Linked DNA regions of Homo sapiens: regions 2, 3, 4, 5, 6 and 7 are each linked to region 1. Evidence: promoter capture Hi-C in 16 types of primary human blood cells and fetal thymus (Javierre and others, 2016). All regions are on one chromosome and are shown on one strand. Each heading gives the region's core, a stretch centred on a gene start or on the middle of the fragment in contact. The rest is flanking DNA. Distances are from core to core; before and after follow the strand shown. Region 1 holds the start of LONRF1 (LON peptidase N-terminal domain and ring finger 1). Region 2 holds the start of C8orf58 (chromosome 8 open reading frame 58). Region 3 overlaps ATP6V1B2 (ATPase H+ transporting V1 subunit B2). Region 4 holds the start of INTS10 (integrator complex subunit 10). Region 5 overlaps MCPH1 (microcephalin 1). Region 6 overlaps MCPH1-AS1 (MCPH1 antisense RNA 1). Region 7 holds the start of ASAH1 (N-acylsphingosine amidohydrolase 1).

Evidence for each region. Contacts are between HindIII fragments. The CHiCAGO score rates a contact against its expected background, and 5 or more counts as called.
Region 2: a contact is called between the fragment with the promoter of C8orf58 here and the fragment with the promoter of LONRF1 in region 1, in 1 of 17 cell types (neutrophils). The highest score is 6.4, in neutrophils.
Region 3: a fragment that was not itself captured here is called in contact with the fragment with the promoter of LONRF1 in region 1 in 1 of 17 cell types (total B cells); the score reaches 9.5 in total B cells.
Region 4: a contact is called between a fragment that was not itself captured here and the fragment with the promoter of LONRF1 in region 1, in 1 of 17 cell types (total B cells). The highest score is 6.7, in total B cells.
Region 5: a contact is called between a fragment that was not itself captured here and the fragment with the promoter of LONRF1 in region 1, in 1 of 17 cell types (naive CD8 T cells). The highest score is 5.1, in naive CD8 T cells.
Region 6: a fragment that was not itself captured here is called in contact with the fragment with the promoter of LONRF1 in region 1 in 3 of 17 cell types (activated CD4 T cells, total CD4 T cells and total CD8 T cells); the score reaches 9.0 in activated CD4 T cells.
Region 7: a fragment that was not itself captured here is called in contact with the fragment with the promoter of LONRF1 in region 1 in 3 of 17 cell types (total B cells, naive B cells and M0 macrophages); the score reaches 9.4 in total B cells.

Annotation. Positions count from the first base shown.
Region 1 is chr8:12,753,000-12,757,209 of GRCh38, reverse strand. LONRF1 (LON peptidase N-terminal domain and ring finger 1) reads left to right here and starts at 1,684. Exons shown (of 12, transcript NM_152271.5): 1 at 1,684-2,510. The coding sequence starts at 1,790. RefSeq lists silencers at 1,186-1,855, 1,936-2,275, 2,279-2,469, 2,366-2,905, 2,956-3,035 and 1 more and an enhancer at 1,391-2,210. The HindIII fragment of the contact is 11,195 bases long and covers 1-3,500 here.
Region 2 is chr8:22,597,912-22,602,121 of GRCh38, reverse strand. It overlaps C8orf58 (chromosome 8 open reading frame 58), which reads right to left and starts at 2,523. Exons shown (of 7, transcript NM_001013842.3): 1 at 2,362-2,523; 2 at 765-1,240; 3 at 270-410; 4 at 42-150. The coding sequence starts at 2,401. It also overlaps a transcript of PDLIM2 not described here. RefSeq lists enhancers at 1-836, 3,525-4,210 and silencers at 2,124-2,583, 2,614-2,713, 3,079-3,138. The HindIII fragment of the contact is 7,578 bases long and covers 1-4,210 here.
Region 3 is chr8:20,199,797-20,204,006 of GRCh38, reverse strand. The region is part of intron 1 of ATP6V1B2 (ATPase H+ transporting V1 subunit B2); the gene reads right to left. Among named protein-coding and RNA genes, the nearest start is that of ATP6V1B2, 4.5 kb to the right of the region's middle. The HindIII fragment of the contact is 3,998 bases long and covers 1-3,570 here.
Region 4 is chr8:19,816,327-19,820,536 of GRCh38, reverse strand. INTS10 (integrator complex subunit 10) reads right to left here and starts at 3,121. Exons shown (of 17, transcript NM_018142.4): 1 at 2,871-3,121; 2 at 2,195-2,262; 3 at 861-964; 4 at 19-158. The coding sequence starts at 2,999. RefSeq lists enhancers at 2,181-2,270, 2,481-2,570, 3,071-3,130, 3,171-3,250 and silencers at 2,751-2,880, 3,401-3,540. The HindIII fragment of the contact is 2,472 bases long and covers 689-3,160 here.
Region 5 is chr8:6,411,903-6,416,112 of GRCh38, reverse strand. It overlaps MCPH1 (microcephalin 1), which reads right to left. Exons shown (of 14, transcript NM_024596.5): 3 at 1,230-1,348. Among named protein-coding and RNA genes, the nearest start is that of MCPH1, 7.4 kb to the right of the region's middle. The HindIII fragment of the contact is 1,050 bases long and covers 1,697-2,746 here.
Region 6 is chr8:6,702,912-6,707,121 of GRCh38, reverse strand. The region is part of intron 1 of MCPH1-AS1 (MCPH1 antisense RNA 1); the gene reads left to right. Among named protein-coding and RNA genes, the nearest start is that of MCPH1-AS1, 3.2 kb to the left of the region's middle. The HindIII fragment of the contact is 3,107 bases long and covers 856-3,962 here.
Region 7 is chr8:18,080,115-18,084,324 of GRCh38, reverse strand. It overlaps ASAH1 (N-acylsphingosine amidohydrolase 1), which reads left to right and starts at 218. Exons shown (of 14, transcript NM_177924.5): 1 at 218-344. The coding sequence starts at 267. RefSeq lists a silencer at 102-301 and an enhancer at 652-761. The HindIII fragment of the contact is 2,384 bases long and covers 812-3,195 here.

The DNA.
Region 1 (4,210 bases), core at 435-2,934:
AACATGCCATTAAGAACAAGGATGCGTTACAAAAATGAATGTGCGTGTACACATGGATATTTGTTTGTGATTTCAAGTCTCAAGGGAGTATGTGGACATCAGCTGAAAGTCACTGTTCTGCTTGTTAAGGTAGTAATTTAGGGGTTAGGATTGGATTTAAGGTTATGCTCATGACTTAATCCCAATGCTTCCCATGCCAAATGCTTAGGAGGTGCTCCTTGGATCTAGCTGCAATTTGCTTCAGGTGCAATGTGAGTGATAAATGAACTTGTTTCTGTCTGCATCCTGTTGGAACAGGAGGCTTGGCTTTTTCTCAGGCACCTCTTTTTTATTCATTCCCTTTAGGGTAATATAACTCTGTCTTTTCTGACGTTACACGACTTGTTGATTGTGTAGTGAAAACACATGAACTCAAAACATTTTTTAGCCTTAATTGCCTGTTCCTTATAAAGAGAAATATTAAACGTTTACCAATTTCATACATAGCATGCTCAGGTGAACTTTCCAATTAGCAACTTCTTTTACTTTGAAAATCTCATATATTTCTATGAAATATTACATATTTTATTAAATATTACATATTAGTCTAACGTAGTAGTAGTGGAATAGACGTGATCTTAAAATCTGTATTAGCTGTGTGATTTTTGACAAATAACTTTCCCTGTGTTTCCAATCATTTGAAAAAGGACTAAAAGTCCTAAGTGACTTCCAACATTAGCGATCTAATACCCTATCATCAAATCTGTATTTTCAGCTGAGAGCTTTAAACTTGCTGCTGTGAAGTTTAAGGGAAATAGCACCCATTATATATCAACCCGATCATTTTCTTCTGTCAGCAAAACTGCAGAGCCAGCTTGGGTTGTAGTAATACGGTGACCGCCATGTGAAACATGTTTCTTGGTGTTTTCTTTTAAAACTGCCAAATATAGACCTTAACCAGCTGTAAGGCAGTGCTTGAGGTGTGGAGACACCTGAGGAAGCTGTGGGCTTTCTCCCTCGAGGTGGGCCCACGATGAGTTTTAAGCAAGACGGGCAAGCAGTCACCTGGCACCAGGAAAAACTCCTTGCCCTCTGGAGGGAGTCGCCCCAGGAACGTGGGTTTTTTGTTCATATTTAAAGTTGAGTCCTCTAGAACCGAAGAGTCCCAGTCATCTGCCGAAGGTGCGCTCCCAGGCCCCCTGCTTGGGCGCGCCCACCTGGAACATGGGCGTAGAGCTATGAAAATGCAGACCCGCACAAGCGCGAGGCCACGCGGGGAGACCCCCGCCCGCCAGGAGTTGGGGCAGGTCCGGCCTGGGCGGGGGCGTCGGGGGAGGGGTGGTGACCCGGAGTCCCGCGCGGCAGGGGAGCGTCCCCCAACCCCCGGCAGGGGCGAGGGCCACCGCAGGTGGCGGCGTTGGCAGACAGGCAAGCGGGGACTGAAGCTCCGGGGTCCTTCCGGCTTTGTTCCGTCACGAGCCGAGCCCTCCTTTCCGGAGAAGCCAATTAGATCTCCGACGGAGGAATCATCCGACCTGCGTCCCCCACCCGGAGGGGGCTCGGAAGGGGCGGGGCCCAGCGCTTGGCTCCTCGGGAGCGCGGCCGCGGGCGGCGTGGGGGAGTCCCGGGCGCCGTCGCCGAGCCCGGCCCCGCCCTCGCCAGGCCCCGCCCTCGGGGCTTCCCGGGCGCGCGCAGCCCCGCCGTGTCCGCGCGCCACGCCCCCCTGCTCGCGGGCCGCGTGCGGAGCCGCGCGCCCGGGAGGCTCCGGGACCGTGGCGGCGGGCGGCGGCGGCGCAGCCCTCCGCGGGCCATGTCCTCTCCGGCGGTGGCGAGGACCTCCCCAGGAGGGAGTCGGGAGATGGCCCCAGCGCCGCAGGGCCGAGGCCGGTTCTGGGAAGTGGGCGGCGGCAGCGGCCATCGGCTGGAGCGCGCGGCCGCGGAGTCGGAGCGCTGGGAGCTGCTGCTCCGCCGCGGGGAGCTGCTGGCGCTGGGCGGCCACCTGAAGGGCGCGCTGGAGGCGTTCGCGGCGGCGCTGCGCCGCGGGGCCCCGGCCAGGCCCGAGTGCCTGGGCGCCCTGGTGGACTGCCTGGTGTTCAACTACCGGCTCCGCCACGGGCTGGGCTGGAGCGCGGCCCCGGTTGCAGGCGCTGACGGCGGCGCCGGCGGGCTCCTCAGATGCCTGGGCTGCCGGGGCTTCCTGAGCGAGCCGGTGACCGTGCCCTGTGGCCACAGCTACTGCCGCCGCTGCCTGCGGAGGGAACTCCGCGCCCGCTGCCGCCTCTGCCGGGACCGGCTGCCGCCCGCCACCGCCAGTGCCACTGATGCTGAAGGGACCGCCCCGCGGCCGCCGCCTCTGGCCGCCGCCATCGCCGCTTCAGACTTCAGAACCAGCGTCGTCCTCAACCACCTGGCCGAGAAGTGGTTTCCGGGCCAGCGCGAGCGGGCCCGGGCGGCCGGCAGGCTCGGGGAGCTACTGCACCAGGGGCGCTACCGGGAGGCCCTGGCCGCCGCCTGCGAGGCGCTGCGAGCAGGTGACCGCGCGGGGATGCGGCGGGGCCGGGCCGACCGCACCCTCCTGGCCCCGAGGGCCGGGGACCCGGAGCTTGTCTGCGCCCCGAGAGTCTCCTCTGCTTCCCCGGGGCCGCTGGGCCGCTGGCGTGTCGGGTCTCGGGGTGCTGGGGGGTGTGGGAGGGGGCGGCGCCCCGGGGTGCTTCGGTCATAATGGGGATCGCCCTGGGAGCCGACTGTGACGCGGCGCGGGGAGGGGCGCTCGGCGCGGGGTTCCCTCGGCCGCGGCCTGGCTGTCGGGCGCGCGCTCCCGGCGCGGAGTGGGTGACCTGGACCGAGGCCGCCCCGGCGCGGGATGGGTGGTAGCTGGGCTATCCCGAGCGGCCGCTCGCTTCCTGCCGCGCGCTTTCCGGGAATTGGCTCTCGGGCCGGGCCCGCCGCGGGGAAACGACTGCCGGGGCGGGGAGAGAATCCCCCGCGAGGGCAACTAGGCCGGGCAGGCGGCGTCTCCCTTCCTCACCCACAAAAGTCACCGGGACAATTGGGAACCGCGGGAGGGCAGAATTGCATAAGCTGGGGGCGGGGGGCGTTGTGTAACGGGTGACGTCCGGTGGGCGTGGCGGGAGCTCCGCGCGGGCGCCCGGCCCCGGGAGGCCCTGCAGGCCGCCGGGCTTGGGGCTTGGGGCGGAGCTGCCCAGGGTGGTCCCTTGCTACCTGGAAATGCCTGAACTGGTTCCTCTTGAAAGTTTCAGCTGGCCTGTTTCAGATCCTGCTTATTTCCTATGTACTTTGCAGTGCACCTAGCTTATGGTAAAGATGAGAGGGGCTGCCTGATCCATAGTTCTCTGCCACGCTTCTCCTGGCCTTTCCACTTAGGATCAGGCTGTGGGGAAAGGCCTTATAGGTCTTGAGTGCATTTCTTAGTCTCCAAGAAGCAGCCTCGGCCTCCTAACCTAGGTTAGCACTTTCTTCTTAAGGTGGTTTTAGGCGCTGAAAGGGGGCAGTTTCAAGCTTCTCTTACGTAAAAGGAAGAGTTGTTCTATATAAATCAGTAGTTCTCTACCAGGGGGATTTTATCTCCCCTCTCTCAGGGGGCATTATTTAGAACAATATCTGGAGAGATTTTTGGTTGCCACCTCTTGTGGGGGTGGTGCTGGTACCGACATCTAGTGGGAGAGGCTGGGGTGCTGCTCAGACATCCTACTAGGCACAGCAGGATTCCCACAACAAAGAATTATCAGGCCCCAAGTGCCACTGTTGATAAACCTTGTGTTACGCGTATTTCAAGATCTTAGTGTCTATCCATTGGCATGAAATGATAGGGGAATAATCCCCAAGAAAACAGACATCTAGAATAGCAACTGACTTTAGGTATTACAGGTAAATTTATAGACTGTGTAACTGAAAGGATCATCTTTCGGGTCATCTTTTGTCCCAAGTGCTTAGTCATATTGAACTAATGTCAAGATCTTGTGTTGTTTAGTATCTTTAGAGTTCGAAGCACAAACCCCGGAGATTTTTGTATTCTTTCAGTGCCTTCGTGAGGAGTAGGCAGGTATAAAATAGAAAGGTAGGCTCAGAACAAAAAAAAAGTATTTGGAATACAGAATTCTGATACACATGACTCTGCTTCTCTGGGTGAATAAAGAGAAGAGAAACTGGACTCAGTTGTACAGACCACCTAGTAACTGACCATGGTGTGATTTTTAAAGCGAGGAAGCAG
Region 2 (4,210 bases), core at 1,274-3,773, 9.8 Mb before region 1:
CCCAGGCAGGCAGGACAAAGGGAGACACGATGGCCCCTCACCTGTGTGCTCTGTCTGGCTTAGCAGCTCCCATGGCCCCTGCCCCCGATTGCCTGGGGTGTGTAACGGGGACGGTAAAGGGGCTCGGGTCGACTCCTCCTCGCCGGGATCCTATGCACAGGAGAGACAGGTGATCAGGGCCTGGCTAGAGGGCTGAAGCTGCTCTGAGGGCAGCCATGGTTCCCAGGGTCCCATCTGTCCTCTCCCTCCCCCACTCGAATCTCACTCACCCCTGGGGGCCTCTGGATCCGCAGCTGCAGGTAGAGCTGCTGGAGCCTTGCCATCTGCTCCAGCACCAGGCACAGGTGTTCCAGATAGCGAAGACCCTGCCCGGGGAGGCAGGCCCAGGCTCCAGGCCCCAGGCCCCCCACCTGTGGGACATTGTGAGATAGGGGAGATTTCAGCCAGTAGGGCTCCTGCCCTACCCTAAGCAGCCAGGCTGGGCTCAGCCAGCAGATGGGAGCAGAGTGGGCCCCGAGGAGGAACACACGCAGCCGGCTTCCCCACTGCCCAGCGGGGCATAGTGCCAGGAAGGGCCCCCGTAGCTGCCCACCTCCTCTGCAGAGGTGGCCGTGCACAAATGGAACTGGGGTGCAGAAAGAACCTATGACACAACCCATCAATTAGGGGCAGGGAGTGCCCCACCCAGAGAGAGCTCCAGGGAGAACCAGAGGAGCTAGGCTGTCCATCCCACTCTTAAACCCAGCCTGAGAGTGAGCACTCACCGCCTCTTCTTCCAGGCCTGCCTCTAGGTCTGTGTCTGCCTCCATGGACTCCTGTTGCCCTGCTCCAAGGGGCACTTCACGCTCAGGCTTGCTTGCCAGCCGCAGGGAGCGGTGTTGTCCTGACAAGCTGGTGGGAGCTGTTGGGAGCCGGCGGGACCGCTCCAACACCTCCCCCAGCTTCTGGCTGGCCAGGAGTCGGCCTACCTGGGCGGGGGGCTCAGAACTCCCTGAGGATTCAAAGTCCAGGGAGTCCTGAGAAAGGCCCGGTAAGGCGGCCAGGGGGCTGTCCCCAACTGCCATCTCCACTCCTGAGTCCCGGGAGGCCAGTTTGAGAAAGAGTGCCTCCCTGCCGACACCTCTGAACTTGTCACCTCTCTCCCAGGATGAGCACCCGTGGGCAGCGTCGGGGATCCGTCTGTAGGTGCTGGTGACTCCAGGCACTATGCAGCCCCGTGCCAGGCCCTCGCCAGCCCCATCTGCATGGAGAGTCAGCGTCAGGCTGGGCAGGCCACCCCCAACACCCCCAGCATTCCTGAAGGCTGGCAGCACTGCCCCAGGGAGAAGTGTCCCGGAGCAGTGAGGAAGGGCGGTCACTGGACAGCCACGGGCAGCCCGGATATGGCCCCAGCTGTCTGGGAGATGTGTGGATGGGATTCCCTTCGCAACGGTTGTTAGCGACAGGGAACCCGTGCTCTGAGCTGTGTGGTAGGCAAAGCCCTGGCAGGCCACATCCATCAATCCCTTAGACGGCCTGCGCCTGCGCTTCCCACCTAGGATCAGCCCACGATCTCCCGAGTCAGAAGTAGGGAGCCACAGGCTCTTCCGCTGCTCCCCAAGCGGGAGTAGGACTGTATCCAGCTTCAGGGAGAGGGGAGAGGGTACAGAGAGGAAAGCCTGGGATCCAACCTGCTCTCTGGGGGCCCCTGCGGCATCAGGATGCCAGGTGAAGTCTCTCCTGCAGCTCACCGGGAGAGTGATAAAAATCACCGCTATAACCGATTTGGGCTTTTGTTGTAAGTGAGCAATAGTGAAGATTTTATGAAAAGTTTAAAATGAAAGAACTGAAGTGAAAGAAAGGGACGAAGGGGCAGCATTAGCACCCCCTCACTGTCACCTCCGCCAGGCCCTCTGGCGACGGGGCGTCCTGGCGGAATGAACGGTACGGGAAACAGGCTAGGGGGGCGGGGACGAGCTGCGGGGCACGCGGGAGCCGAATGCCAACCCAGGCCCCTCTGGGCAAGGAAGTGGGCCAGGAGGTCACTGGGTGGGAGAGGGGTCCGCAGCCACGGAGGGGGCTGGGGCGCGGGCGGATTCCCACATCCTCAGAAGGAGCGGGAAGGCGAGGGAAGCGGAGCCGGAGGAAGTGGGGCGGAGGCGGTGGCTGGTTTAACGCCTGGGCCCAAAGGGGTTCCAGCCTGCATGGCGTCCCCTGATGACCGCCCCTCCAGGGAGGCGGCGAGGGAGGCGCAGCGGCGCGGGCTCCGCCCGCGGGGTGCGCGGGGCTGGGCAAGAAACTGAGAGAGGGTGCCCGGCTTGGGGGCGGGAAGCGGCTCCGGGGCAGGGGGGAGCCCGGCCAGCCTGGGGGTGGGTGACTCACCCCGGCCGTCCACGGCGAAGGCGCGCCGCCGGCCCATCATGGCCCGCTCCCGGCCCCGGCCCCGGCCAATGCAGCCGCCCGAGGATCCCGGCCCGAGTCCCCGCGGAGCTCGGGCAGCTCAGGGAGCGCGTCCCGACCCAGCTGGGCGCGGCCCCCAGACACTCCCAGCGGGGCTGGGGGGGCGGGGAGCGGGGCTGGGGGGGCGGGGGGCGGGGCGGTGGGGGGCGTGGCCTAGGGGGAGGAGAGAGGAAGAGCGAGACGAGGAAGGGAGGGGCGAGGAGAGAGGGGAGGGGCGAGACGAGGGAGGGGAGGGGCGAGGCAAGGTAGGGGAGCGGCGAGAGGAGGGGAGGGGCGAGGGGAAGGGGGAGGGGCGAGGAGAAGGGGGCGAGGAGAAAGGGGCGGGGCAAGACGAGGGATGAGAGGAACGAGGCGAGGGAGGGGAAAGGAGAGGGAGGGGAGGGGCGAGGAGAGGGAGGGGAGGGGCGAGGAAGAGGAGGGCGAGGGGAGGGGAGAGGAGAGGGTGGGGAGGGGAGAGGGAGGGGAGAGGGGAGGGGCGAGGAGAGGGTGGGCAGAGGAGAGGGAGGGGAGAGGGGAGAGGGGAGGAAAGGAGAGGGGAGAGGGGAGGAGAGGAGAGGGGAGAGGGAAAGGGGAGAGGAGAGGGAGGGGAGGGGAGAGGAGAGGGAGGGGAGGGGAGAGGAGAGGGGAGGGGCGAGAGGAGGGAGGGGAGGGGCGAGAGGAGGGAAGGCAAGGGTGCCAGGTGGGGGGCGCAGGTGGCCGGGTCGCCAAGAACGAGGTCGAAGGCACGGACTGGGTGGCGCCCCCAACTGTGGCTGTGGCCAAAATAAGGGTCCCGATCAGCTGTTCTGCGAGGACCCGGCCCCCGCCTGGGGACGCCGTCTGGCTCGGGGCGCCGGTCCGCCCGGCCCCGCGGGTTCACACGCAGCGTCCGTCTTCCTGCCGCGGACTTAGAGCCGGGGCTGGCTGGAGGACCGGACAAGAGCCAGGAAGGAAATGGGAGCCCCACGTGCTGGCGGTGGGAAGAGCGCTGACCAGGACGCGGGCACCCGGCGCTCCCTAGCAGTGTGGCTTGGGGGCCAGTCTCTTGGCCGCTCGGAAACCTGGGCGATGGGAGGGGAAACGATCCTGCCCACCGGGAAATCTTTTACAACTGCAGAACGCGCGTGTGTCCTCAGCTAGATCTGAACCCCCTCCCGGTCCCCTGCCTCTTTCTCATCCCGGGCTCCCTAAAGCTGGGGACTGGGTAGGTCTCAAGGTCTGGAAAGATGCGAGCCAGCGGGGAGCCGCCTGGAGACTGGGCCAAAGTGTAAATGTCCCCCTGTTCCCACCTCACCCTGCCTTTGGCCCGTGGGATTCCACCCCTCAGTCCCCAACCTAAAAGGAGCCCAAGAAGCTACTGAAGATGAGAGAGAGCCTGGTGACCAGACTGGGGCTGGTGTCCTCTAAAGAAGGCACCTCCTCCAGAGGGAGGGGGCAGGGCTGGAAAAATCCCAGCAGGACCCAAATCCCCCGGAGGCAGATAAGGGAGCTGGAGGACGTGCAGACTAGCACCTGGACCTCTAGGGGAGGGGAGAGGCTGGAGCCAGAGCCACTGGAAGGAAGTGGCTGTTTACCGGGAGGGGTAAGACAGTCTGTGCATCCCCTTCCCTTTGCTCCTTTCTGGAACCAGTCCCCAAACACCCACTGCAGGAGCCTTTATCAGAGAGCCACAAACTATCAGATTTTAAAACTTTATAAAATGGGGAAACTGAGGCCCACAGCCAATCTCTGCGCAGGCCAGCCGAATGACAGCCAAGTGCCAGAATTGCTGGCCATGTCTCAACAGAGTCAC
Region 3 (4,210 bases), core at 322-2,821, 7.4 Mb before region 1:
ACGCAGAAGTGACAAAAGTCACAAAGGAAATTGGAGAAATTGTATAGCCTGCAAGGTAAAAAGCCACAATTAAATGGTGTCATAAAAACTAGGGAAAAGAGCTTCTGAAGGACGGAGTAGGCAATGGAAAGAAAGGCCAGGGGGTCAAACAAGATAAGAAAAGGATCCTTTTAAAAAAAGTCAAACGTTACTGCCAGGTTAGAGACTGTTGTTTTCCACTGCAAAGTGCGCCCTAGGAATAAACAGCTAATTCTACCCCAGCAGGTCCTACCCAAAGCCCTCACCTATCACACCTGCATGGCAAGTGAAATGGGGATCAGGTATAAGAACACTCAGGGGAGAGTAATTCTACCAGACACCTACAAAATTCACTAAATTTCATAAGCAGAACAACTGAAAAAAAATACATGAACTAAAGTTTTGAAGAAAATTTACTATAAGGCCTAAAATAATTAACATGAAGCTGTCTAGCAACTGGGAATTTTTCACTTGCTTGATTTCTTTTGAGGTCTTATAATGAGCTTGCACAGAGATTCCTGGCACAGATGTGGACTCCCAAGCATGAGGAAACCATTTACTAACCAGTCTGTCCACTCAAGTGGCTTTGGAATTTAAAATTACAATTCCTTCAGCCTCAGGCGGGGAAGCCAGAGCCCTGGTAAAAATGCTGGGACAGAGCAGACAGCACTGTCAGGGCTTCCATCTTTCCTGCTAACAGGACGTTTAAATCCAGACATCACATATTTGCTTGAATACATCAGTAATTGTACTGCAACTGTCTCAATAGAGGCCCCCCAACTGAACTGTATTTTTTTTTCCCCACTTTAGATAAAAAGCAAGCTACTTGGATGGATGGTCATGTGAAAGGATTAATCATTCCCCTAGATTACTAGAAAGACCCCATTTGCCACATTTTCTGCCACTTTTATGAAAACCATCCCTACTGTTTTAAAATGATTGAATACTCTTAAAAAACATAATTCCAACCCTTTAAAAGATTTCTTCATTGTTCTCATTTTAAAGACTCCCAGCATTTTTTTTACAATGGCTTTCTAAAATTGCCATGTGGAAATGGAAAGTGAGCTACATTAGAAATATGTTTTCTTGAAACCAGTTTTCAGAAATGCAGAAACGTAGACCTTTCCAAAACCTTTACCAAACAGCTGGGGTGAGGGAGGGGATATGGTATTGAGATTTATGATTAACTGTTTTGAATAAAATGCAACATCAGTAAAATACACCAGGTTCTTAAAATTCTCTTTATTTTTTCAACAAGATTGTATCTCCTTTATAGGTCTGATTTCTACAACAATACTGCTTTAGAATCTCATGTTTAAAATTCAAGCTCATTCCAAACTATGAAATTTTGCCAGTCACGAGCAAAAGTATGACCAAGAAAAAGAAACACTAGTCATAGCTTTTCCTGGAAACAGTGACTCAAATTGACATCTACTACAGAAGACAAGATTCTACTTCATCAAAAGTCTCTAAATTTGGAACAACGTATCCAGCCTTTTAAAAAGTTAGTAAGTAACCTTGCAAGTTAATTGATAACACTATCATACATTTAATAAGTACTTTTCAGGAATTCTCATTTAATCTCCATAACAGACAGAGTTAGCTATCATTATTCTAAGTTTTAGAAGAGAAAAATTATTCTCAGAGAAATTATTGTGTCTTGCCCAAGGACACAAGCAACCAGCCCAAGGATCTGAATGTGTACACTCTAGCTCCAAAGCCACTTATTCTTTGACTCTACTACAGCCCAAATTCTAAAACTGAACTGGTTCATTTTTTGTGGTATGGTATCTTGTAAGAATTATGAAGCGATACCACCCAAAACAATTTCACAAGCCTGCAATTTTAGGTATGCAAAACAGGTTTTTACTTTTTAACGCACCAGGCAATAAACTTCATCCCCAATGTGGCAGTACTGACAGGTGAGGCCTCTAAGAGGGGAATGGGTCATGAGGGCTCTGCTCTTATGAATGGATGAATCCATTCATGGGTTAATGAATTATCATGTGAAGGTAACTGGTGGCTTTACAAAAGGAAGAGAGACCTGAGCTAGTGCCCCTGCATTCTCAGCCCCCTCACCATGTGATGCCCTGAACCACCCTGGGACTCTTTCAAGTCCCACCAGAAAGAAGGCTCTCACCAGATGCGGCCCCTCCACTTTGGCCTTCCCAGACTCCAGAACTTTAAGAAATAAATTCCCTTTCTTTATAAATTACCCAGTTTCAGGTTTTCTGTTAAAAGGAGCAGAAAATGGCTAAGACAGTAGGCAAGGCTGATGCACCCTAAGGAAACTAAGGCCCTGATAAGTTTGTTTTTAAATGGGGGAGCCAGGCTTCTAACTGTTTTGTTTTTCTTTAATCTTAGGATTGGTACTCTATGACCCTTATAATATTTCTGGCCTTAGTCTTCAGTACAATTAAAAAGTATGGAGATCATACAGCTTCTAGCACTTGGACTACAAGTGGGGACAAAAAGACAATTTGTATAAAACTACAGCTCTTCTCCATGGTACTAAAACTATCTGCAAAGAAAACCAAGCAGAATGATAACAAACACTACCTTTTATCTCTAGATTTATCCAGCCTTCCTCACCATTACCATTAACAGCCCAAAACAGAGATACCAGTTTAAACTATGGCTGTCAAAGACATTAAGTTGCCCTTCAAAACAGGAAAAAACCCATTTGTAAATTACCTAAATATTTCTATTTACCTACATATTGACCACTCCTCTCCAAATGAAAAAGAATTTGAGCCCGTAGGTGTGTGAATGGGGGATAATCAGAACTTCTGACAACACAGAAGATATATGCTTATATTACCTTCTTAACATATTTTACAACCAAAATGTCTTGGCTTTGATTCTGAACTATCATATGAGCCAGACAAGTATTTATGAAGTAACATCTAAAACCCAAAATCTACACGGGTTTTAAGGAGCACATATTTTATCAGATGACATCCTCTTCCTCCTGCAGGATAGGATATTGCTCAACACTAGTAACACCATTTAATGATTACGAAATACTCAGAAAAAGTTGACAGCCATTGCATAATAAGTGTCCTAGTCTTTTAGCCTCTGCCTTATTAGCAAAACAAAAACCCAGAGCAATCATCTTCCCTTGTACAAGAAGAGTAGAGATCTGCATGATGAGCAGTGAGCACCTGAAGAAGAGGTTCTAGGAAAAAAGCAAGGAGAAGATTCCTATTTTGACTTTTTGCAGGGCTGGCTCTGCTTTATGATATAAGAAACTTAAGGCCAGTTGATCTAGGGTCTCAAGAAAAATGGAGATGACCAAATTCAAAATACATAGCACCCGAAAGCTCTATGTATGTTGTTGAATCTTTTCTTTTAAGAGAAAATCAAGTTTTCATTCCTTGTGACTTCAGAAATTCAACTAAAATGCTCAAGATAATTTCCTAATTTCAAGCCTGAATATGTTTTCCATTTCTTTTAAAAGTCCTATAATCTTGAAGCTATTTTTTAAAAGGATCTAATTTGTACAGTGGAACTGTCAACATTACTCCATTTCTTCATTCAAAAAACAAAGCTTTTTGAGTTTAAATGCAAGTTACACAATTACAAGGCACATTCTATGTGTCAGGCACTGTGCTAGGCAGTGGGGACACAAAAAGGATCTCTGACTTCTAAAGGTTCAGTGTGAAGCTTTAGGCTGGGCACAGCAGCTCACACCTGTAATCCCAGCACTTTGAGAGGCCATGGCGGGCGGATCTCTTGAGCTCAGGAGTTGTAGACCAGCCTGGGCAACATGGGGAAATCCCATCTCTACCAAAAATAAAAAATAAAAATTAAAAAAAATTAGCTGGACGTAGTGGTGTCCGTCTGTAGTCCCAGATACTTGAGAGGCTGAGGTGGGAGGATCGCTTGAGCCTGAGATGTGGAGGTTGCAGTGACCTGAGCTCACACCACTGCACTCCAGCCTAGGCAACAGAGTGAGACCCTGTCTCAACACACACACACACACACACACACAATAACTATAATTACATGTCCCCTTAAATGATAACATCAATCAATTCACAAAAAATTACAATCAATTTACAAAAATTAAGAGGTTGGCTGGGCGTGGTGGCTCATGCCTGTTATCCCAGCACTTTGGGAGGCCTAGGTAGGCGGATTGCCTGAGCTCAGGAGTTCGCCACCAGCCTGGGAAACACGGTGAAATCCCGTC
Region 4 (4,210 bases), core at 675-3,174, 7.1 Mb before region 1:
GGAAGAATCAAATCTCACCCCATGCTGCACCACCGTTTCAGGGAAGCGCCTCAAAAGTAGAAGCAACATTTCTGATCGTTCTAACGTGTTGAAGCATTGTTCCGTGACCTTTAGTAACATTTCACACTGGACCCGACCAGGAAGAGTTTCAAATAAACCTGTACGAAACATATTTCACTTTTAAAAGTTTCTTGCGGACAGAAAAGACTGCAGCAACAGTGCTGAGTAAGGCATTTTCATGTACAGAACAGTAAACACTACATGTGAAATCAATGCAGTTAAGTTTCACCTACAACCTGGCAGCCTTTTGGAGCCAATAGTATCTGGCACAGGATGTTTGCTGAATAATGGTAAAATATTTGCAAGACTGATCAAATTCAAAAAACAATGATGTATGTGAATGGTCACAAGAATGCCTGTTGCAGGTTGAGATAGAGAGCATGTGCTTGTTGAAGTTCAAATGACCTATGCATCTACTTGCTATTTTATCTAGAGTTTGAAATCTTTGATTGACTACAGCAACATACAGAAGTTTAAAGAGAAAGCTTCTAAATTACTAAAAGCTTCTCTCCTGTTTTGTGGAGAGCTGGTTAATCTATAGCTGCTATCTGGTTATTGTAAAACCTGTTAAAAATATATACAATTAATTCCTCGTCTCACTGATAAATCCATATCCTTTAAAGAAGCTTAAAGGGTTCTAAGCAAGTCAAGGAACCGAGTGACATTATTATAGACTTTGGTTGCCAAGAATAAAACATACATATGGTTACCAATACCCCAGGTGTGACTTTTTTGTGTGTGAAATTACTATATATGATTTGGTATTCCCGAAATGGTAACTTATACACCATTATTCTTACTTCTTAAAAATTGGGTTTGTTTGTCCTGTGAATCGTTCCTTAATGCTGATGTAATAATGCTGATTTCTCTCCACACCACCGGCTGGTCTGGGAAATTCACAAACCTATTTTTAAAATAAATACATTAAATTAAAATGTCAAAGTCTATACAGTATCCAAAAGAAAAAACGTTAGCATTTGGTGAAAAAGTTTCCTTTATTCCAAGTGAATGCTTAGACGTGCCAAAACAAACCAAAATAAAAATGTAAAAATAAGAATTACTTGATTTATAAAAATGAGAGTACTCACATAAGTCTTTAGTGGGTTTTATAGGTGAAAAGACAAGTAACCATAACATAGAAAGAGCTTCTAAAAGTCAACAAGAATAAAACAAACTATTTGAAAGAAAAAATAGGCAAAGGCAAATCACAGAATACACACAGCCAAAGAGAACAGTTGAAACAATACTGAATCTTATTAACAGTATGAGTAGTACAAATTTTTTTTTAAAATAGCAAGATACCATTTTCTCCTATCACAGTGACAAGAACTAAAAAGAGACTAATAATATCCAGTGTTGGGAAGGGTATGGGAAAACACACTCTTTATACACCATTGGTGGTAATGTAGACTGGGATCGCACATTTTGGAGAGTAATTTCATAGCGTATCAAATTTTCAAATGCGCATAAACTTTGACTATGAAAATGTCTTAGAATCTATTCCACAGAAAAACACCAAAATATGACTACAAAATTGTTGACACACTGAATATAATTTCAAATAATTTAAAACTATCTATTTAAATGTCTACCAAGAAGAGAGTGTCTACGAAATACTACACAGGCATGAAAAGGAATGAAGTGGATCTCTACATACTGATATGGGAAGGGGTCCATGAGAGTGAGTAAAGGAAACATGCTGCAGGGCAAAGGTAGTATGGTCTTCTCACTTTTGTAACCCCTTCCCCCCAAAACCTTATTTATGTATTATGCATACATGTATAGATATACTGCCTACAAAACTTAACTCTGGTTCAGTTTAGGATGCACTTTCACTTTTTGTTCTCTATAACAAGTAGTGTTTGAATTTTTGTAATGAGCACATATTATTTCTAGAATAAATTATGAAACAGAAGTTTTAACAAGGATAAAACATAAGAATAATAATTAAACTCTTCTGCAAAAGCCATGTCAGCAATTTATGGCAGGCCTGGACTCCTTACTAGGTTTGCTTTAGGTATCGAAGATATAGATGAACTTGAAGATCTTCCCCCAACTCCCACTTCTGCAGAGAGAAACAAAACCTCATGGAGAGATTCAGTGCAGTAAAAGTGATGTCAAGCGTCCCACTCACATGTCGTACAGCAGCCTCCCGGCGGTGGCGGTCCGCTCTGCATTCCGCTCGATGGTGTACATCTCATACTGCAACACACATCAGGCACCCTGGTCACTCACCCCTGCCCAGAAGGCTCCCAGCTCATCCAGCATCGCTCGTTGGCCCTCCTGCAGGAAGGGAGGGCCTGAGAGTGAAGCTCCGCCTGGTGACACAGCGCCACATACATGGCAGACTTGCCATTGGGCTTAGAGTGTGACCCTGGGGTTCACCTGCAATCTCAGGCTCCCAGGATTAAGTAGGATAATATTTCCAAAGTCGCAGGCCCTGAACAAACTGCTGCCATTATGATGAATGAAGGAGCGAATGGCCTTTTGCTAGTGGCGATCATGTGCTGTCTAGGCCAGATGGCACGCTGAGCCCCAGGGACCTAAGCACACCCGACCTCAAGCGGGATCGGCCGTCTCTCAAGTGCTGGGGAGAGGGCTCCTGGAAGGTGTAGGAGCAAGGCGGGTGAAAGGTGTAGGAGCAAGGTGTAGGATGGGAGGGGAGAGAGGAGGGGGTGGGAGGGGAGAAAGCAGGGGGCCGGGCAGGAGGCGGCAGCCCCCAGGCAGGCGCAGCTCTGGGCCAGGGCAGCCCGGGCGACGGGAGCGCGCACCTCCACGCAGAGCGGCCGCATGCACAGCCGGGACCTCACCTGGATGTTAAAGTCTGCCGGGTAGAGGCTGCGGGCCGTGATCAGCCACGCCTTGGCTGCCCACAGGTCTTGCGGCACCAACTCCCGGGCTCGCTGCACCAGGAACTCGCAGTCCCCCTGGGCAGACATGACCCGAGCGCTCTCCAGCCGCCAGCCCGAAGCGGCCGGAACGTCCGGCTCTGGACTCTCAGCCGCCACGGCAGCCACCGCCGCCGCCGCCGCCACCGCGGGGGAGGCTACTGCGCATGTCTGGAGGCGCACGGAGGCTGGCAGAGTGGATCGGGAAAGCTTTTCCGGGTTTTGCGAGCAGTCTCCTCCCCTTGGCTCCTCGTTACCGCCCGGTCCCCTCCTCTTCTGAGAAGCCAGAGCAGTTGAACCGCTTCCAGGTCACCTCGAAAATGCGGAGAAGTGGATTTTCATTCCTGCGGGCTGCAGCGTGACCTTGGTGAAGTCAGGGAGCATGCGCGGGAGCGGGCAGGCGCCAGGCCTCTTCGCCATTTCCATCCTCTCTGGGTATTGCTCAGTTTGTCGGGGGCGGGGGCGGAGGCGGGGGCGGGGAGACGGGCGGTCCCGGGGAATGGGCGGTCCCTGGGCGTCCCCCCGGCGTGGAAGGTTGAGAAGAAGTTTGAGAGGAACAGCAGAGGGTCGGGGAGGCGGCGGGAAGCACTCTCCACCCGGGCCGGCCTGAAACACCTTCCCCGGGGGCCGCTGCCTGCGACTCACTCCCCGGGCTTCGATTTACGCGAAAACTCCTGGGGCTGGTGGGGGTGATCGTGCAAAGCGTGAGCTCCGGGGTTCCTTCTCTTTCCGAAATCCGTCCACGTTTTATTATTTCACCTTTATGCACCGGTTTCTCCAACAAACGTTTATTGAGCAACGAAGTACTTGGAAAGCGCTTTGGTGGATGCCGTCCGTGGGAGCTGCAAAGATGACTAAAACCCTGACCCAGCAAGGGTTTTATATGTTTTAAATGTTCTGGACGTGAAACCCACAGAAAGATAACTACGCTATTATTATAATTATCTCCTCCAGCCACAATCAATGTCCTTTTCACCAAAACTCCAGATTTGTTTTCCATCTAAGAGATGAAAAACATCTAGGAGATTCTCCATCTAAGAGATTCTCTTGCCTCAGCCTCTCGAGTGGCTGGGATTACAGGCGTCCACCACGACGCGCTAGCCCGGCCAATTTTTGTATTTTTAGTAGAGACGGGGTTTCACCATGTTGGCCAGGCTGGTCTGGAACTCCCGACCCCAGGTGATCCGCCCTCCTTCGCCTCCCAAAAGTGCTGAAATTACAGGCATGAGCCACCGTGCTGGGCTTCGAAGCACTGTTTAATA
Region 5 (4,210 bases), core at 972-3,471, 6.3 Mb after region 1:
CATTTCTATACACTAACAGCTAACAACTTAAAAAAATTAAGAAAACAATTTCATTCACATGAAAATGAACAAAAAAGTTAGGAATAAATTTAACCTAGGGGGTAAAAAACTTGTACACTGAAAACTAGAAAGTGTCACTGAAGGAAATTTGAGACCTGAAAAAGAAACACATCCCATTTTCATGGACTGAAAGATTAAATATTATGAACACTTCCCTAATTAGAGATTCAATACAATCCTACCAAATCCCAGCTGCCTTTTTTGTTTTTGAATAAATTGACACACTGATCATAAAATTCATATAGAAATGCAAGGAACCCAATCAAGACAGCCAAACAATCTTAGCAAGGAACTCAAATCAAAATAGCCAAACAATCTTGAAAATGAAAAACAAGTTACAGGACTCGTACTTCCCAATTTCAAAACTTACTACAAATTTACTGTAATCAAAACTGTGTGGGCCGCGCACGGTGGCTCACACCTGTAATCCTAGCACTTTGGGAGGCCGAGGCAGGTGGATCACCTGAGGTCAGAAGTTTGAAACCAGCCTGGCCAACATGATAAAACCCCGTCTCTACCAAAAATGCAAAAATTAGCCAGGCATGGTGGTGCGTGCCTGTAATCCCAGCTACTCGGGAGGCAGAAGCAGGAGAATCACTTGAGCCCAGGAGGCAAAGGTTGAGATGAATCCCAGCTACTTGGGAGGCTGAGGCATAAGAATCACTTGAGCCTAGGAGGCTGAGGCTGCAGTGACCCAAGATCCAGCTACTGCACTCTAGCTTGGATGACAGAGCAAGACTTTGTCTCAAAAAAAAAAGAAGATACCAACCCTGTTGACAACTTGATACTGGACTTCCTGCCTCCAGAGTTGTGAGAAAGTCCTTTTCTGTTGCTCAAGCGACCCATTCTGTGGTCCTTTGTTACAGCAGCGCTTGCTGACTAACACAATCTGCTTCATCACATTCCCTCTTGCTTCCTAAGTCCACCTTGCATACCCAGCTTCAGGACCTGCAGGCTCCTTTTCCCCCTAGGCAGAGTTAGGTATTATAGCATGACCATTTTTGAACCACAGAAATTGAGGCTGGAGGATTTCAAATTACTAGGTGAGGTAAGAGGCAGAGAAAAGATGAAAATCAAACTTTATCTGGTTCTGCGATCTGTGAAAAATATCTCCACACATTTTCAATACTAGATACTTAAGGAAAAAAAGTAAGAGAGAAACTGCTTACTTTTCCACCCAGAGCACCGAAACGAGCTTTACGCCTCTCTTCTGAGCTTTGTCCCAAGTGCTCTGGTAGCCATCTTTGAAGATAACGTGAGTTACTTGTTTGTTAAAAGTTTTTGAAACCTGTAGACAAAATGCAGAAAACAAAATGTACATTACTGTTCATTCACAACTTAACTACAACTGATCAAAAAACCTCTACCCCAGCAATTCTGTTTCTCAACATCTGACAGAGAAACACTCAAAGGAATGCATAACGCTGCTTAAAACATATCTGTTCCAGTTACAACGGTGAATCATACACACAAGTTCACATCTACTCCCTCTAAAAACCCTCTGAAGTGTTACTGAAAGAATAGAGTTGGAGCCCTGCAAGGATAAAGAGGACAGAAGAGAAAATGTGGCCATGAGAAGGCACCACATTTTTAAAGATGGAAAGAGTCAGATAATAATGGACATTTCAGAAAAGCTTTCTACATCAAAAAAATAAAACCAAATGAAATTCAGAGGCAACAGAGAAAACAGAACACATATTTAACCAAAATTAAAAATACCTCATATCTTAAGATACTGTATCCATGGCTGGGCATGGTGGCTCATGCCTGTAATCCCAGCACTTTGGGAGGCCGAGGCAGGTGGATCACCTGAGGTCAGCAGTTTGAGACCAGCCTAGCCAACCTGGTGAAACCTTGTCTCTACTAAAAATACAAAAATTATCCGGGTGCAAGGTGGCGGACGCCTGTAATCTTAAATGCATAAATACAAAGTAAGAAGGTTGAAAATAAGTGCAATCATTCAAAAAGTTGGAAAAATTCAGCTAATTAAAACCAAAGGAAACTGGGTGTGGTGGTTCACACCTGTAATCCCAGAACTTTGGGAGGCCGAGGCAGGTGGATCATGAGGTCAGAAATTTAAGACTAGCCTGGCCAACATGGAAAAACCCTGTCTCTACTAAAAATACAAAAATTAGCCAAGCGTGGAGGTTCGTGCCTGTAGTCTCAGCAACTCGGGAGGCTGAGGCAGGAGAATCACTTCAACCCGGGAGGTGGCGGTTACAGTGAGCCAAGATTGTGCCATTGCACTCCAGCCTGGGTAACACAGCAAGACTCCATCTCCAAAAAAAAAAAAAAAAAAGATACTGTATTCACGCAACATGATCAGAAGATTATTTTTTAATAGGATCCTAAAGAGCTCTTGGAAATTAAGAAAAGATGACATAAGTAAAAAAATTTTCTACAGAAATATCAGACAATGAAGTTGAGTAAAGCTCACTGGTAGTAGAAGAGAAGAACCAGAAGACGGACAACAGGAGACAAAAGGCAAGAACATCAGAAGCTCAGACCAGGAGATCCAACAGCCAATCAACAGAAGTTAAAGAATACAGGAATACACAAAATGGAGAAAATATTATTAAAGAAATAATCAAAGAAAAGTTTCTCAAACTAAAGGATATGCATTCTAGATCAAAAGAATCCCCCACAAAGGCCCAGCACAAGAACGAAAACAGCACTACACCAAGCTTATCACAGAATTCCAGCATGGTTGGCGAAAGGGAAAAATATTAAAAGAGTGGGTAATCAAGGTGAAGAGGATAGAGACACATCACATGCAAACAATAAGTGACAACTGAATCAGTCTTATCAACAGCAGTCTGGAATTGAGAAAACAATGGGAAATACCTTCAAGGAAAAATAATATTTGTGCTAGCATTTTACACTCAGCTAAAATATTAGTCAAAGGTAACAGTATAATAAAGGCATGCTCAGACACTCATGGTGTCAAAAATTTTACCTTTTATGTATCCTTTCCAGAAGCAGAACTCATCTGCATAATTTTTATAGCATTCAATTATACTGAAGTAATATATGTACAATGCTTGGAAATATGAAGGTAAATACCAAAAGAAACAGATGATTTGAAAGTAGCTGTCTTTGAAAAATGGAAAAGGAAATGTACTGCAAAGCGTTGCTGGTTTCTCTTTCTTTTCATTGTGAATTTCATGGCACTGCCCGTTAGTCTTTTTAAACAATAAATATGTATTACTTTTATAACTCTCTCTCTCTCTCAATTTCCACACCCCCATCAAGTCCATGGGAGCTATCAAGGCAATTAAGAATTACCGGGCTGAGATTCTAGATTAAGACTGACACCTAGAGAGATGAGTCTAGCATTTGAGACCATCTTCCCACAAGGCTTTTATCAAATTTAGTACACACTAAACAGGACGAAAATTGAGAAGCCTCAAAGAGACAAGGGGGTCTGGTAAAACCCCTACACCTTGCGCTGAGACCCAAAGAGCTGCATCTAGATTAAGGGTGAATCAGAAGTTATAATGACCCTCACAGGCCTGTAGTCTGGTTTTAAATCATCTCAAATCCTGAAATTGGCTTAAGATAATCCCGGATTACGAGTACTACAAATATCCAAATCTTACGATGTTAACGACTATTGATCTGTATTCACTATTCTTTGAACTGTTTGCCAATTTTTGAAATAAAAGGTGAAACCAAAAAGTTCTAAAAGATCTAAGATCTTAATGCTACCCTCAAACCACCTTGTCAACTCACTTGTCTAACGGCTTTTTTCTTATTCACAGTAGTTCCTCCTCATCCCAAGTAAATGTTAGGCATGTGCAACATGCAGACTCCCTCGGGTTCCTACATTCCAGTGTATTACAGTGGGCATGTCTCCCCTCCTGCAGTGCAGGCCCTGCTCCTATATTCGGATTCCTCTCCACTGACCTCTTACTCAAGACAGGCATTAGGGAGGTCAAACAAGGCTCTTAGGGTATTCAGTAGCACCCACTCTTTGCCTGGTGGTGAGCGCCTCTTAAGTTTTATACCCACAGCAGCTCTCTTGCTCCACCCTAACCTAGCCCTGCCTTCGATTATCTTTTCTCCCATTTTTAATGGTTCTCTTTCACTCAGCCTATCAGTCAGCCCCTCCCAAATGCCAGACAAGGACATAAACAGGATTTGTTCATAA
Region 6 (4,210 bases), core at 1,160-3,659, 6.1 Mb after region 1:
TATTTGAAGGCCAGCAGGAAGCATTACACAGTAAAAGGAGCTTCTCTCTTTCTGTGGCTGTCATTGTCCTGTACTGTAAGAAGCACTAGGTTTAGTACTGGTGGAAAAAAGTCACAGGTGTGGACAGTGTGCACAACTAATGCTCCTTATGCTTTCTTTAACTGAGACCAGACATCTCTACACTAGAACAGTGTGCGAAAAGATAAAGCAGGTTCTGTGTTCACGTTAGGATTGCTGTGTATAAAGTCAGTAAATATGTGTTTATGTGTAAATTTGTTGTGAATCACCCCAGATTACTGTTAGTCACGAAGTTGTAAACTTTTGTGCAATGTTTGCCATGAAAACACAGAACTTAACTTTCTCTTGTTCCCTCTTTATCTCCAAACCCAGCTCCTGACTATCAGTTATTGTCTGTCCTGCTCCCGCTCCTCTCTTCCTGCGAACAGTCACAGATCCACCCTCTCTTTCTGCCACTACCCGGCCCTGTTTTTCTGTTTTTTTTTTTTTCCCTTTTTCCGTGCAAACCTCTTAGTTGATAATCAGCCCACACCCTCTGCCTCCTTACCTTGTACTTTTGTTGAGCCCTTGCAGTCTGATGACCTTTTCCTCCCCTTTACTGGAATGGTGCTTCTTTCAGAGCACAGCTGATTTCCTCCTTTGCATACCCTGCTGGGCACCAGTGGAACAGTGAAAGGTGAATTCTGTCTATGCCTTCCTTGTACAACATTTAACAAGGAGTTACCTGTGGGATGAAAAGGGGACATTCTTGGTTCTCTGGGAGCATATATCAAGGCAATCTAATTTAGTCTGGAGACAAGGAAGACTTCTCAGTGAAATGGTATTTCAGGTGAAGCTTGAGGGACTTAGTGGGCTTTCCATGGGAGAATGGCACATTTGAACGCCTGAAGCTGAGAAATCACCATATTCTCATGCATAGCACTGGAGTGGGCCACAGTGTTCTTTTTAAAATTTGTTGAGATGCCCCTTGAAAGAATGCTGTGTATTCCCATCACACATTCTTAAACTGATATTTAAATGTTTTTCTCAGCTGGGCATGGTGGCCTATACCTGTAATTCCAGCACTTCAGGAGGCCAAGGAGGAAGGATCACTTAAGCGCTTTGTAGAGTGAGGCCTCCATCTCTACAAATATATTTTTTTAATTAGCTGGGTGTGATTGTGCATGCCTGTAGCCCCAGCTACTCAGGAGGCTGAGTTGGGAGGATTGCTTGAGCCCAGGAGTTCAAAGCTGCTATGAGCCATGATCGCGTCACTGCAATCCAGCCTGGGCAAAAGAGAAAGAGTCCATCTCAAAGAAAAAAAAAGGTGGGGAGAGGGGGGCTTTTAATGATAAATTTAAAAAGGCTTTTAATTATAAATTTAAGTAGTTATGAAGTTCTGATGAGTTATGAATGATGTTTTGAAAATAAAGTGATTACAGAAAATTTTTAAATGTATGCAGTGAGTTATAAATATTATAGTGACTTAATATCCACCCCATCATTCATTTCAAAAATACTTAAGCCTTTGACCAGTTGAAAATTTTGCATTGATTATTTTTCTCCCTGAAAATATTTTTATTTCACTTCTACCACAGGATTCTATCATAATTGAATATGCTCTATCCTTCAAAGTTTTTTACTGATCAGACTGTATCATTAGGGTCCTAAGAAGCAAATTTTCTTCTGGATTGAACTGTTACTATTATTAGCAATACACAGTTTAATCAATGTGTTTCACAAAATCTGATAAGGAATTGTAGGCAAAAAAAAAAAAAAGTTACAAGAAATGCATCTCTTAAATAAGTTATCTCTGTTGGTGTCCTAAGGTTTATTACACCTTTCTACCTCAGCAGGGCAGCACAATGTAGTAAGATTTAGGATGTGCCAGGGGGGAGAGGAGCCATTATGAAATGCCAGGTGGGCCTGGACTGCAGGAGTCCTCAGACAGATCACTTTTAGAAGAGTTGGGATCTGAAAACTGAATCCCTTGAAACTCCTCATGACCACGTGTCCATATTCTCAGGGATACGCATGCCTCCATTTGAAGATTGTTTTTACAGAAATAATTGGGGTAAGGAAAGGAGACAAGGATGCTAGGGATTGAGTCTGGAAAGATAGGCAAGAACCAGATGACAGCAGGGTCTTGGGGGACACATAAGGATTTTAGAATTTATCCCAAAGGACAGGGAAGCTACTGAGATTTTAAGGAGAGGAGTGACATGCTTATATTTGATCTTTTTAAAAGTTGTTCAGGCATTGTGGAGAGTATATTTTAAACAGTTTGGAGACTATAGCTAGACTCCCAGCTAGAAAGGATGATGGTAGCTTAGCCTTTGGTGGTGACCATGTATGGAGAGAAAAACGAATCCCTCATGTACAGTGTTCTTGGAAGGAAATTTGACAGTATGTTCTAAGAATGGACAGCCATATGGTTTGGATCTGTGTCCCCACCCAAATCTCATTATCAGTCTTAACCCCCAATGTTGGAGGTGGGGCCTGGTGCCAGGCGATTGGATCACAGGGGCAGTTTTCTCATGAATAGGTATCACCGTCCCTCTTGGCACTGTCCTCAGGATAGTGAGTGATTCTCGCGAGATCTGGTGGTTGAAAACCACGTAGCACCTCCCCACTCACTCTTGCTCCTGCTCTCCCTTTTCCTTTCACCATGATTGTAAGTTTCCTGAGGCCTCCCCAGAAGCTGAGCAGATGCCAGCACTATGCTTCCTGTACAGCCAGCCAAAATGTGAGCCAATTAAACCACTTTTCTTTATAAATTACCCAGTCTCAGGTATTTCTTTATAGCAATGCAAGAACAGCCTAATACAGACAGATACCCTTTTAATCAGTCCATCTACCTAAGTGCACATCAGTAGCAGAATAGCTTTGTGGATACACAGTACTGATAAGTGAAATGGTATGCAGCAGTTGGACAGGAATAAGTAGCACTAAATGCGTAGTCGTGGACAGATCTCCAGGACACTAGGTGACAAAGCAAGTTGCTGGATAATACATGCACTATGATCCTATTTCTGTAAAAACTAAATAAAACTTTGGTCAGTTCCCATTCATGCTTTTATTTTGCTGTTTGCACAGATAAAACAAGAAGGCATTCCTGTTATAAAAAGTGTAAGCAATCCTATGTTTTGAATATTGAATGAAATGTGGACATTTCCCTCATGCCGCACCCAATCCCACTTTCTTACCCAGAGGTTACAGCTATCTACTTACGCAGTAGATGCTTGGCAATCCTTTGCCCCTTCCCTCCTTGAGGTGACTAAGATGGTCATGCAGACAAGCCACCCCTCCCAACAGAACCCATGTGATCTAGGGGGAAGCTGACCCCACCCATAATGGGCCACCATCAGTCTAGGGCTGTGTTTTTTTGACGTGTGGACCTTGAAGCCTTCAGGCTCCTCAAGATGCTTTCAGCTGGTCCAAGGGAAAAATGTTTTCACAGTGATACTGAGACATCATTTGCCTTTTCACTATTAGATTTACAGTGGTGATGCAAAAGCAGGGGTAGGTAAATCCACTAGCACCTCACTGAGAGTAAGGCAATGACACAGAAAGTTACCTACTAGTGACCATCATGTTCTTCATCACAATGTGATCATGGCAGAAAAACGCTTAAGAATAGCCTGAATGTGATAGCAAAAAAAAAAAAAAAAAAAAAAAGTCAATTTTATTAAATGTCAACTGTGGAGTACACATCTTATGAATACTCCATGTGACTAAATGGAACTTGCATGAAGCACATGGGAAGCATACCAAAGCTCAATAGCTCCCCTGTAGGAAACAACCTCTGAGCTGCAAGCTGAGAGCTACTTTTTTCGTGGAACATCACTTTTGCTTGAAAGAATAACTAGCAGATAAAGTGGTGAGTCTGGCAGACACTTTTTTCAAAAACAAATTCACTTCAAAAGAAAACAGTGGGTAATGTTGCCAACAATAAAATTGAAGCTTTCAAGTGAAAACTTGAATCTTGGAAAACTTATATTGCTCTATGAGCTTGACACCTTCTCAGTTCTTGAAGACCTTTTTCATGAGGACTGTGGTAATAGCAACCATTGTGATTTTTCAATACTGTATGATGCAATGTGTCAGAATTTGGAAGGTTGGCACAATGCAGTAAACCAAACCAATGTTTTTTAAATAATGCATGATATTTTAAAATGATGAATGGGTAAATGGCTCTTGCAAGCACAAGATA
Region 7 (4,210 bases), core at 754-3,253, 5.3 Mb before region 1:
GCCACGCGCCAAAGGCGATCGCGACTCTCCTTCTGCAGGTAGCCTGGAAGGCTCTCTCTCTTTCTCTACGCCACCCTTTTCGTGGCACTGAAAAGCCCCGTCCTCTCCTCCCAGTCCCGCCTCCTCCGAGCGTTCCCCCTACTGCCTGGAATGGTGCGGTCCCAGGTCGCGGGTCACGCGGCGGAGGGGGCGTGGCCTGCCCCCGGCCCAGCCGGCTCTTCTTTGCCTCTGCTGGAGTCCGGGGAGTGGCGTTGGCTGCTAGAGCGATGCCGGGCCGGAGTTGCGTCGCCTTAGTCCTCCTGGCTGCCGCCGTCAGCTGTGCCGTCGCGCAGCACGCGCCGCCGGTGAGTGAGCTTGAGCCGAGGCGCAGAGAGGGGCGTGCAGGTGCGGGCGCGGATGGAGGCGCAGGTGTGGCGGCGCGAGCGGGTACAAGGAACACCTCGTGCTGGGCAGCTTCTTTACGGGGGTCTGTGGTTTCGTGCACAGGGGTGTGGGTGCAGAGCGGGCTGGCGAACCCCGTCCTCGGTAGATTCGGTGCTACCTGCAACTAGAACTCCTTTAAAGGAAATCCTAGTCTCTGCAGGATACCTGGGTGTGATTCGCACATTCTTAGATTTGAGTGAGTGTACTTGAATAACCAGTTCCAGGCCCTTGCATTTTGAAGTGTTTAAATAAAATGTTCCGGTGGACCTGTGTGCATTACTCAATCAAGGACAGACTGCCTGATGGTCAGGTGCTTTCTCCCGAAGAAGTTCAGGAGTTCAGCCCAGGATACTGCAGGGCCGTGGGAAACGCTGAGTGGTCCCAAGCTTGGGCGGTGCGAGCAGCCCAGAGCAGGCCCCAAAGGGCCCCCTGTGGCCTTTTGCACCCAAGTCATGGGATCGCCTGTCCCGTGGCTCTTTCCCACGAGCAAGTCACAGGGCTACGGACTTCCTAACTGCAAGAGACAGTGAGGGACGAGCGTGACTCTTTCATTTTACAGAAGAGGAAGTAGACCTAGAGTGAGAAAATATTTAGCCAGAGGTTACACTGTTGTTTACTGAACATGCGTAACGTCCGAGCCTCTTGACGCCCAGTACTCTTTCATAATTCATTTCTTTATAAAGCAATCAGACTGCGTTTGTCTTTGCCAACAGAATCGGATAAGTAGGAACCTGGCGCATCTGGCCTGAGGCTAGATGGTGATGGTCTTGAATAGTTTAGGTAGGTTATTGAAAGTGGAAGCAAGATGTGCATTGTCTTCTTTTATACCTGTAAGGAGAAATTCTTTAAAATCATGGTGGGATATGATTTAGCCATTAAAATTGATATAATGTTCAGCAGATAAAAGTAGAATCCAGAATAGTATATACAGTTTTTCCTGTAATAGGAAAATACACAGAACATGTATGTGGACACGATTAAAGGCCTTAAAATAAAATTGCTCCATTGTGGGTAGGGAATTAATTTGCTTGACGGTAGTTGGTTTTATGGGAATTGGGAGAGACTTTGATACTTTGATACTGTCAGGGCCCTTCATTGAAAGACCACCAGGAACACACCATAAGCTGAACAAATTGGGTTTAGTGTTCTTTGAGGCAAAGGAGACCACACACCATGAGCGACGGACGGTAGGTTATAGAAAAAAACCCATTACAGAATTTGAACTTCGGTTGCATGATTTGGGGTAAGACTGAGGAACCGGGCTTTGCTGTAGATAGAATGCTGTTAGAAGGTGGGGCAATTCTGACTGAGTAAAGAAGGAACAGCCATTCTGTTTAGCACGAGAAGGGGATGTTTGGTGTTTTGTGCGTTGCAGGTGCCCTTGTTTTTGTCTGTTCTTAGAGAAAATCTTCAAGTGGCATTGCTTTGTCTTGGTGTGTCATGTCTCAGAATAATCTTATCCGACGTAGGTATCTGTGGGATTGTTGATGTCCAGGAGGAAAACAGAGCTTACCTGGCTGTGAGTGTCAGATCGGCTTGTAATAATATTGAGAGATAGCTGTGGGACTCAGAGCAGTTTCAGGTGTTGGAGGCTGTTTTTTCTTCTTTCTCAATAGCTTTATTTATTCTAGCAAAAGTATTTTGATAGCTATTTTCAGAAGAAGAATTAACAACCTCTCAATGGATATAATAGTTCTTATCTAGAACAGCGATTATCAAAGTCTAGTCTGGCCACTGGTGTCACTTTGGGAAGCTGTTTTCACAGGTTTTCAATGAAACTGGAAAAATAAGAATGCAAAACTAAAATTATTAATTTAGAATGTTAATCTTTACTCTGATTGTATGGACTTCAAGTTTTCATTGTTGCAAACGTGTTCTTAAAAATAACGGCAGAGGTAGATGTTATGTGCATGGAATTTGTTTTGTTTTAACATCTCCATTTGGCAGAATAAAAATTTGGACCCTCCTGTGCCAAGGCCTCATTAATTTTTTTTTACTGGCCTGGAAAATCCTGGGATCCATGCACTGAAGGACCTTTAGAACCTTACAGAAGTTTAGTGACTTCATTCTCTGAGAAGAATAAGCAGTTTTTCAACTGGAGTCATTATATGATAAACTATAGCCTCATGGTAACAAAAGATATTTCAAAAGTACTTTCAATAAATATGAATAATGAGAAGCAGCTTTAAATTGGAAACAAGTCATTTGATTTAGAACATCTGTAAGGATTTTTTGTGTGTTTGTTTTTGAGGCTTTTCACAATATTCCTATGTGAAGGTCCTCCTGAGTTATTCTTCATTATTGAATTTTTTAGGAGTCTATTAAGAGATGATGGTGAAGACAGTGGCACAAGAAATGTCTGGAGAGATAGCGCCAGATGACATCATCCAGGGTTCTGTAGACTCTTATTAAGGATTCAGAAATTTATCCTAAAAAATGGGAGGATCTGGAACCAGCCAATGGGAGGCCATTAGATGGTTTTAGACAAGATAACATTTTCACTTTAAAAAGATGAGTCTGGATTGGAGGTCAGCAAGGGTAGATATGAGGAGACTAGTCCAGAAAAGAAAACAGGGTGCGTTGAAGGATGGTGGCGCCAGGGGTGAGGGAGAGAAGTAGATGTTCTAGAAAAAAATCAGGAGGGCGAATGAGCTGAAGGAATCGTTGGGTGAGGATGAGGGAGTGAGGTGTCAGCGTGACCTGCACATTGCTGAAGTGCTTCGCTGGGCGAATGGTGGCATCCGTTCCAGGAAACATGGGGAGGGGAAAGCTTGGGGGCTAAAGAATGAGGATCGTTTTCATTTGGGGTGTATGTTAAATTTCAGGTGGCAGAGAGGCATCCAGCAGGCCACTCGGACTGGCACTCAGAAGAGAGACACTGAGAGTCACTGGCATAATGATATTATATTTGAAGCCCTTGGAGCAGATGAACTTACCTAGAAATAGGATAGAGAAAGAGAAGAAAAGAGAACTAGGCAAAGGCTAAGTAACTTGCACATGTATGTGTCAAGAAGAGGAGAAATTGCCAAAGTTAAAACAGGACAGGCCGGGCGCGGTGGCTCATGCCTGTAATCCCAGCACTTTGGGAGGCCAAGGTGGGCAGATCACGTGAGGTCAGGAGTTTGAGACTAGCCTGGCCAACATGGAGAAACCCTGTCTCTACTAAAAATACAAAAATTAGCTGGGCATAGTGGCTCACGCCTGTAGTCCCAGCTACTCAGGAGGCTGAGGCGGGAGAATTGCTTGAACCTGGGAGGGAGAGGTTGCAGTGAGCCAAGATCCTGCCATTGCACTCCAGCCTGGACAATGAGCGAAACTTCGTCACAGAAAACAAAAACAAAAAAATAGGAGAGTAAGTGGAACAGGAAGCTCAGGGAAGAGACTGGGACAGGTTAACTATGTTGAATATTATTGAGATGTCAGTGGTATTATGATGTTGGGCAACTGGAGGTCATTGGTCACCTCGACTGGAGCAGTGTTGGGGGCAGAAAACAGCTTGCGGTAGGCTAAGTGTGATTGGCAGGAAAGGAACTAGAGGGGAGAGATGGCTGCTCTGCGTAATAAATCTGACCCACTTCATAAGATGTGCGAAGATGAAACGTAATGGCTTAGTAATTAATTGCCAAAGTAAACTTGTAAACTCATTTTTATGCATCAGCTTCTCATACTAGTTAACAGCGTATGTCAACATTGTTGACATTAGCTATTGAATCAGCTTTAGCAATGATTTTCACGCAGTTGCCAGAAATCTCATAGACCCCATCTGGCCTAGGAATTTATTGCACTT